Regions from separate parts of the Homo sapiens genome. Here all the other regions are linked to region 2. Evidence: promoter capture Hi-C in 16 types of primary human blood cells and fetal thymus (Javierre and others, 2016). All regions are on one chromosome and are shown on one strand. The core of a region is centred on a gene start or on the middle of the fragment in contact, and the rest is flanking DNA. Distances in the headings are between cores, read along the strand shown.

The links. The method cuts DNA at HindIII sites, captures the fragments that hold promoters and counts their contacts. A CHiCAGO score of 5 or more calls a contact.
Region 1: a fragment that was not itself captured here is called in contact with the fragment with the promoter of NSMCE3 in region 2 in 1 of 17 cell types (total B cells); the score reaches 5.1 in total B cells.
Region 3: the fragment with the promoter of UBE3A here is called in contact with the fragment with the promoter of NSMCE3 in region 2 in 1 of 17 cell types (total B cells); the score reaches 7.3 in total B cells.

The regions. Positions count from the first base shown.
Region 1 is chr15:25,421,442-25,424,332 of GRCh38, forward strand. The region is part of intron 1 of UBE3A (ubiquitin protein ligase E3A); the gene reads right to left. Among named protein-coding and RNA genes, the nearest start is that of UBE3A, 16 kb to the right of the region's middle. The HindIII fragment of the contact is 1,378 bases long and covers 884-2,261 here.
Region 2 is chr15:29,268,479-29,271,178 of GRCh38, forward strand. It overlaps NSMCE3 (NSE3 component of SMC5/6 complex), which reads right to left and starts at 1,344. Exons shown (of 1, transcript NM_138704.4): 1 at 1-1,344. The coding sequence starts at 1,227. The coding sequence ends at 313. All of the region lies in intron 2 of ENTREP2 (endosomal transmembrane epsin interactor 2), which reads right to left. RefSeq lists enhancers at 639-1,140, 1,141-1,640. The HindIII fragment of the contact is 8,019 bases long and covers 1-2,700 here.
Region 3 is chr15:25,437,591-25,440,398 of GRCh38, forward strand. It overlaps UBE3A (ubiquitin protein ligase E3A), which reads right to left and starts at 1,434. Exons shown (of 13, transcript NM_130839.5): 1 at 899-1,434. RefSeq lists enhancers at 550-1,495, 1,496-2,441 and silencers at 579-998, 1,359-1,698. The HindIII fragment of the contact is 4,364 bases long and covers 121-2,808 here.

The DNA of each region.
Region 1 (2,891 bases), core at 323-2,822, 3.8 Mb before region 2:
TTAAATGAAATGTGCCAGACACAAAAGGACAAAAATCGTATGATTCCACTTATATGAAGTACCTGGAAGAGTCAAATTCACATATGAAGTAGAACAGTGATTACCAGCAGATAGGGAGAGTAGGCAATGAAGAGTTACTGTTTAATGGATAGGGTTTCAGACTGAGAAGATGAAAAAGTTTCAGAGATGGATAGTGGTGATGGCTGCAGAATAATGTGAATGTACTTTATGTCACTGAACTGTACACTTAAAAATAGTTAAAATGGTATATTTGATGTTGTGTATTTTAGTACCACTTAAAAAAAAACACTGCAATGGGATACCACTACACACCTCTCAGAACGTGTGCAATTAAAGACTGAGAACATCAAATGCTGACATTTGGAGAACTGGAACTCTCATACACTGATGATGGGAATGTAAAGTAGTATAATCATCTGGAAAATAGTTTGGCAGTTCCTTATACATTTAAACATAAACTTACCATGTGACCCAGTAATTCCAATTTAAGGTATTTACCCTAGAAAAATGAAAACATATGTTCACACAAAAACATGCACACAAAACAGTACCTTTATTCGCAACAGCCTAAAACTGAAAACAATTTAAATGTTCACCAGAAAATGAATGAACTGTGGTATAGTCATATTGTATTTAAAAAAACGAAACAAACAAAAATCTGTGACAAACACAAATTGGATGAATCTCAAAAACATGCCAAGTGAAAGAAACCAGGCATGGAAGAGTACATGTTACTTGATTCCATGGATATGCAATTCTAGAGTAGGAAAACTAATAAACAGATCAGTGGTTGCCTGGGGCCAAGAGGGAGAAATGACTACAGACAGGAAGGAACTTTTTGGAGGTAATTCAATTGTTCTAAAGCTTGATTGTAGTAGCAGTGATAGTGTATATATTTATCAAAATCAATAAAACTATATAGTTAAAATGGGTGCATTTCATTGTGTATCAATTATACATCAATAAACTTGATTTTTTTCAAAGTTTGTGAGAACTTAATATAGAAAAAGGTGGCATTATCAGTGGGGAAAGGATGCCTTACAAGACAATCAGCTACCCAAGTGGAAGAAAATAAAAGGTAGATATAATTCCCAAACCATGACAAATGCAATCCAGATCTAAACCATATCATACCATATCCAAAAATATGCTGAATGCTCATATCTAACTTTCTAAATTAAAGTCTATAAAGTAAAATCACAAAAGTATCAGAAGAAAATACAAGAGATTGGCCAGGTATAGTAGCTCATGCCTGTAATCCCAGCACTTTGGGAGGCTGAGGTGGGAGGATAGCTTGAGGCCAGAAGTTTGAGACCAGTCTGGGCAACACACTGAGATACGTTCTCTACCAAAAAAAAAAAAAAAAACCAACCAACCAAAAAAAAACCAACTAGCTATAGTGGCACATGTCTATAATCTTAGCTACTTGGGAAGCTGAGGCAGGAGGATCACTTGAGCCCAGGAGTTTGAGGTTGCAGGGAGCTATGGTTGCTCCAGCCCGGGTGACAGAGTGAGATCCTATCTCTAAAAAGTTTTTGTAATATATATATGAGATCATATTTATATCAACTTTGTTAGCATGCTGAAACCCAGAAACCATAAAAGATGGACAGATTTGCCTACATAAAAACTTTAAAATTTCACATGACTAGATACTATAAAATTAAAGGTAGGTAGAGATAATATTTGCAAATTATAATAAAGAATTAAATGATATATAAAGAATGCTTACAAATTTAAAAAACAAACACCACAATAGAAATGGACCAAAAAACCAGGCAATTTCCCAGGTTATTTATAAAGACTTAAACAGATTTTATATATACATGAATCAAAACAAGGTAAATGAGCAGTCCCTAATATATTTTAAGGAATGAAACTTGCTAAAATTATTTTTTAAAAGGTAATTGGCAAAACCTATCAAATATTTAGATTGACATGATCTAATGGCCTGACATCTTATTTGTAGGAATCTACCTTACAGAAAAAATAACAGGTACCATCATTGCAAAAGCAAATATTGAAAACAACCGAATTTCCAAAACAGGCAAAGGGTCTCATAACATCATGAACTCTCAGAGTTAATTCCTAGTTCAGTTCTAAAGATTGAGAGAACACATCAGATTTAGAGTATTCCATCTCAGGTTTCTCAAGGACAATTTTTCATTAAGGCCTAATTTATTATATTTTAAAACATGCTTTTCCATCCTTTTTTCTGTTTTTCCTCTTTTCCCCCCACAAGCTTATATGGTAAAATTACCTGTAGTTAAGTGGGCATGTGATATGATGCACAGATTTAATGCAATAATTTATAAGAATTATCCAACTCCATTCTCTCAGCTGCTCTGGTCAAAAAACTTTGGCATCATGTTTTACTCCTCCCTTTATTTCCCACTTTCATCTGGTCTACTACCAAATCCTATGGACTCTATTTCAACATATATCAAGAATTCAACCACTTCTCACCACCCTCACTGTGACCACTCTGTCCATTTCAGTCACGTCTTAATCTGTACTAATGGTCTACCAATTGGTCTGTTTCTGCCCTTGTCCCCTTTTTCAGTCTATGATTAACACAGCAACCAGAGTGACCTTGCTAAACATAAGTCATACTTTTTCACTACTCTGCTCAAAGACTTCCAATAGCTTCCCATCTCACTTATAGGTAAAAATCAAACACCTTATTATGATCAAAATATCTGTACCCTCCATTCTCTCTATTTCCCATCAATTACTTTTCTAAAGCTACACTGGCCACACCTCGAGTTCTTCAAACACATCAGGCACTCTCACTTTGGGGTTTCCCTATTCACTACACTCTGCCTGAAATGCTCTTCCCCCAAATATCCACATGGCTAGCTCTCTCATCT
Region 2 (2,700 bases), core at 94-2,593:
TTATGTGTTCCTTCTTGCATTATCTGTTCCAGATCATAGTCAAGTTTTCCAATTCGTTTTACTAAGCTAGCAAAATTTTTTATACCAAAAAGAGTAAAATCAAAACAAATGCTCCTTTGTTTATAGATGAAAATCTGGAGCAAAATAACACAACATTAAAAAAACAAAACTTTGCAAACACATCCTAAAGCTACACACATTGAAGCGTTTACAGCAATATGCTCCCTGGGTTCGTTCTCCCTTCCCCCAATCCTCTAAACTGTGCCTTTGGGTCTCAGACCCTTGTCCCGGGGGTCCCTCTGAATCCACCTTTCAAGAGGATGGAGCTGGGCCACTAGGCTGAGGTCTGGCCCTGTTCTCCTCATCTGCCAAAGCCTCACAGTACTGCGCTGGCCAGTCCTTGGGGTCTTGATTATGGACCTTGGCCACAAACTTAAGAACTTTCATCTTGCTGGTTTCCAGGTTGGTTCGCGGGCCCCACTGGAATTCGTAGTCGACGGGGTCGGTGTGGGGTATCCGCCGGTATTCCAGGTAACGCTGTCGCACAAAGTCCTCAGTAATGAGTTTCTTTGGATCTCCGAAAATTAAATGCTTCTTGGTGGGGTAGACCCCTAAGCGCCGCAGAAAGTCCCAGGCTTCAGTTTCCTTGATGGTGTTGCCCTTCATAAAGATGAGCCCTAAGACGATCATCAGGAGGCCCGTAGTGGGCGTGCCTTGGTCACCCCTCATCTCGGCATCCTCCTCCACAGGCTCCAGGGTGTTGATGAGGATGTAAGTGTTGCTCTTGGGTTCAAGTTCCACCAGCTTATACCCGAAGACGTACTGGAGGCGCTCGGCGGCCCGTTTGAAGAGGTCGGGGAAGATGTCCTTGTAGTCCCCGATGACGTGCTTCAGTATGTCGGCCCGCTTGATCGGAATCTTCTTCTGGTCTTTAATCAGCAAGAACTGCACCAGCTCGGACACTTTCAGCTCCAGCTGCTTCTGGCTCCTGGGCCCCACGGCGGGGGCGGCCTGGGCCCGGCGGGCGCCCTGAGGCGAGGGGCCCTGCGACCCCTGCGAGCCGCCCGGCCCGCGGGACGTGCTCGGGGCCTCCTCGGCAAAGCCGTCTCTGAGAACCCGGGCGTCTTCCCCGGCCCGCGAAGCCCCGGGGTTTCCGCTATGGCTCCAGTCTCTGTCCCTCTCGGCCTGGCCGCCAGAGCGGCCCCGGTTCCTCGGTTTTTGCAACATGTCTCCGGCGGCAGGTGCCGGCGCACACTCCGGTAGGCAAGCAGCCGCGGCGGGGATTGCGGGTCGGCGACCCGCTAACGCCGGTGCCTGGAGGCGCGCGCAGTGTCGGCTGAGACTGCGTGCTGCGTCATGAAGCCTGCGCCTTGCGTCAGGGCGGCTGGGCGGTGCGCCTGCGCGGCTGCGGCGGGTACCAAAAGGAACAGCGTTTTCCGTGCAGCCCTGCAGGTCCGGGCGATGATTTTTAGTATAGTGAAGTGTTGTTACCAAACCATGCAAACAGAGAGCGAGAACCGAAACTCCTAAACAAGTGTGTCGCTAAATTCAGACCACACAGGCTCAGGCAAGTTTTACAGACAGTATTATGAGTTTCTAAATCGGGAGCATTTGTAAACGGAAAGAATTCAGAGGATGAACGTGTGAGAAAAAAAAAAGGTGAAGAGGAAGGGCCGACCGTGGAAGTAAAGTAAAAACATTTATTTCTACACAAAATGTAGAAGGACATAAAAGACCCAGAGGGCTCTTAGTTTTCGTCCCTCCACCCAATTTCATACCCTCCATCCCACTGCCCCCAGTTACTTTCTCTAATGCCCCGTGGAGTCTGTTAAAAACCAAAGTCGGCTGCAGGCTTTCTGCGCAAGCAGGACTTCAGTTTCACTATTTCCGTATTTATATTCTCTGCATTAAACTCCTTTAGCTAGACAACTATGAGAAGACCACAAAAAACGTGTCAGTATTAGGTAAATGTTTTAGCTTGGTCACATGGGTTTATCTTTTGGAAAACAACTGCTTTCGTCACAACCACAATTTTAGCAGAAATGGGTAAGAGGAATGCTGCAAACAAACGTGCACTCTCAAGAGATTACTACTTAATTTGGGGCATCACTGATCAAGAATTGCAATAATGTGGAGCTCTTAAATTTCTTAATTCATAATATATTAGCTTTGAGGAAAAAAAAGAGAACACTGGGGGATTTATCTCTCATCTATGATGTGATATACAGTCTCTACTGTATATTTTAATTGTGCAACTCAAGTAGCCAAAATGAGTCATTTCATTAACTCAAACCATCAGCAGTCTGCTGCCATGACTTCTACAGATCTTAGCAAATTTGTTTCTTCTCTATTTACTTGCAAAGAAGAAACTGAATTTCCCTGTGTCTTTTTAAAGCTACCCAGAAAGTGGATAAACTCTTCAAAGAACCAAATTGAGTTCCTCTTTAATGCAAATATATTCAAAGGAAAGCAATTTAGAACACATTATCTGAGTAATAGCATCAAACACAACCTTATTAAAATTTTGTTAATTGTTAGTAGCATAACACTTTTGTTTGTAATTCAGTAGGAAAATGCAATCTGATAATGGCACTGGAACTGCAATAGTAAATGTAAAATCATATTCCATGAACTAATGCAAGTATGCTAAAATCTGGTATGCAATGAGTAATAACTTACTGTTCCACACAAGATGCAACT
Region 3 (2,808 bases), core at 184-2,683, 3.8 Mb before region 2:
TTTCAACAGCACCCTCGCCACTTAATAATCTCAAACAGATTTTGGACTGTTACTAATTTAGCATATCCATAAAAAGTCATTTAAAAAATGTAGACGCTAAATTCTCTTTCAAGGTTGCCAAGCTTCACCAGTGTCTGTATTAAAATTATTTCTAAAATTTTACGGACTAAGGCATTTGGTACATTCAATTCTACCTTTACCAACAAAAGCCTTTACCACCAAGATGAGGAAAGCATCCTTTTCATTTTCTACACTGAAAAGGGGGGGGAAAAAAGGCCAACTGCTTGCATACAGGTCTGCATATAACACAGCAGTCTCTGGCAAAGCCAATAACTCACGTTCAACTTCAGAAATCCTGGTGGCCGGTAACACAGAGTAACCTGTGCGCACAACCCTTGGGCTTGACATACCACTTCATCCGCCCTCCCTTCCCATCAATCCACCCCCAAAACCCCAACCCACCAAGCACACGGCTAAATATGTCTTCCCCAAGAGAGCCAAAAACCTTGAAAACGCCGAGAAAGGGCTCCCCTTTGAAGGAAAGGGCCTGCCCTTCCCTGTCTGGGGCCCCGGCTGGCTCGAAGAGCCTGGCTCCTAGGAGGCCCAAATCTCGACGCCTCGCACGTCCCGCCCCGCCCCGGGCCCGCTCGCGTCCCCTCGGGCGACAAAACCCTCCCGCCGTCGCTCAGCCAGGACTGACAGTTACGGCTGCAGCAGCCGCGGCCACCAGGGGCCTACTTCTGGCACCAGCCCCTTCGGACCACGCGCCCCCAAACACTCGCCTCGGCGGCGGGGGGCGGGGAAGGGGGGTGTCGACCTCGCCACAGCGGGCCCCGAAGGCCGGCCGAGTGACGGAGGGGAGCCAGCGCCGCCTGGCGCAGGCCGCGGCAACACTGACCTGTCGTCGCCCCCGCGCCTGGGCTGCGGCGGCCGCCTCACTGGTCGTAGTCGCCCTCGCCCGCCGCCTCCGCCCGCCACCGCCTCGTTCTCTTTCGCTGCCGCCACCGCCGGGGCTCATGCGGGACCCGCGCTTCCTTATCCGGAAAACGAGGCCGGGAAAGGGAGCGCCGGGGCCGCCGAAATCCCGGCGTTCGTCGCCAGCCGCCGCTGCCTGTCCACACCGGGGGGCTGAGGGGCCCTCCTGCCAGGGGCTACAGGCCGCGAGCTATTCCGAGGAGGAGCCGAAGGAGGCGCCGCCGCCCGCAGCCGAGCGCGCCGGGTCGGCAGAGGTGAAGCGTAAGTAGGCGGCGGATGGCGGGCGCCCGCGCTGGCGGATGGCTACGCGGCGGAGGGGTGCGCGAGCGAGCGAAGCCTGGTGTGTCGGGTCCTGGCGAAGGGAAAAGGCCCCGTCGTCTCCTGTAGTCACCCCGAGCCCAGCGCCACCATCTTGGGAGACACACGGATCTCGCGGCCGCGGCGCAAGACGGGAGGACTGGCTGGGCGGGCCGAGTATCCCGGCAGGCAGCGCGCGCCGCCCGGCCGGGCGAGGGCTCCAGGCCGGGACGCGGGGACGTGGGGCGGGGCCAAGACGCGCGGGAGGGCGCCGCGCTCCGCCCCTCCTTCCTTCGCCGGCCCCGCCTCCCTCCCGCTTGCCGTCGCCGCCGGCGCACGGGCCATTGGGAAGAGGAGGTGGCCTGCGGCCCCTCGGAGTCCCACCAGGCTCGGTCGCCATCTTGCGACTGGACAGAAAGGGTAATCCCTCTTTTTAGTTTCTGCTGTCTGTGACCCGAAAGAATAAACCTGGGACTTCCGGAAGCCCTCTGGGCACCCCCCCCCCCAGGAGGGTTGCAGAGCCCCTTGGTGTACCCAGCAGAGGAACGCCTCAGACTTTGTTGGGAAACGAATGGCTCTGAAAGTTAGCTGAAGCCGCTGGAATAGCCCCCCAGCCCCGAGGCGGGGCAGGTGCCTGCCGTTATTGGCTTTTCGACCCCAACCCTTTTCTATCTGGAGCTGCCTTTGTAGATGTTGCAGGGGTGCCCCGAGAGTGCAGGCCAGATTTTAGAGGACCAAGGTCATCTACTTAGGCCTCTTGCCAACACAGGATGTGTCAACTAGTTTACCAGAGACGAAGGTAAAGTCCCGTCTCCTGCAGTTGTTGACGTTCAGTAGGTCGTCGGTTAAGAAAAGTGGCTCCCTGGTTGACCCCAGCTGGATAGAGGCTAATTTTGATCCATATGACAGCTGAACGTAGTTAAAGCCATTAAAATTAAATCCATTTAAAGTCATATTTGGTACCAGGGTCACCATTTTAAAAGGTGTGTGTGTGTATGTGTGTGTGTGTGTGTGTGTGTGTGTATAGCTTTACAACACTTGCTAGCAAAGCCAAAAGAGTATCACTAACAATTCATAGTGTTACAACTTGCAACTTTGTTGATAAGCCCTTGAAGTACTAGATGAGTACCCATGTCTAGTATTCAGATTTTTTATATCAACAGTCGTACATAGCAGTGTATCTTTTTTAAATTTATTTTTATTTTTAAACTTAGAAATGGTGTCTTGCTATGTTAGGCCCAGGCTGGTCTCGAGCTCCTGGCCTCAAGTGATCCTCCCACCTCGGCCTCCCAAAGTTTTGGGACTACAGGCATGAGCCACAGTGCTCGGCCAGCAGTGTAATTTTTAACTGTCAGTCTCGGAACATCTTTTTTGTATAGCCAAGTGTGTGGGTGTGTGTGTGTATCCGCCTCACAACTATAACCAACCATTGAAAAACCAACAATAAGCTAGAAGAATTTAAGTTATTCCAGGACAACTGATGATAATGATAGTATTAAGCCATATTCGATTTTAAGATGTTTTAACTCAGCTCTT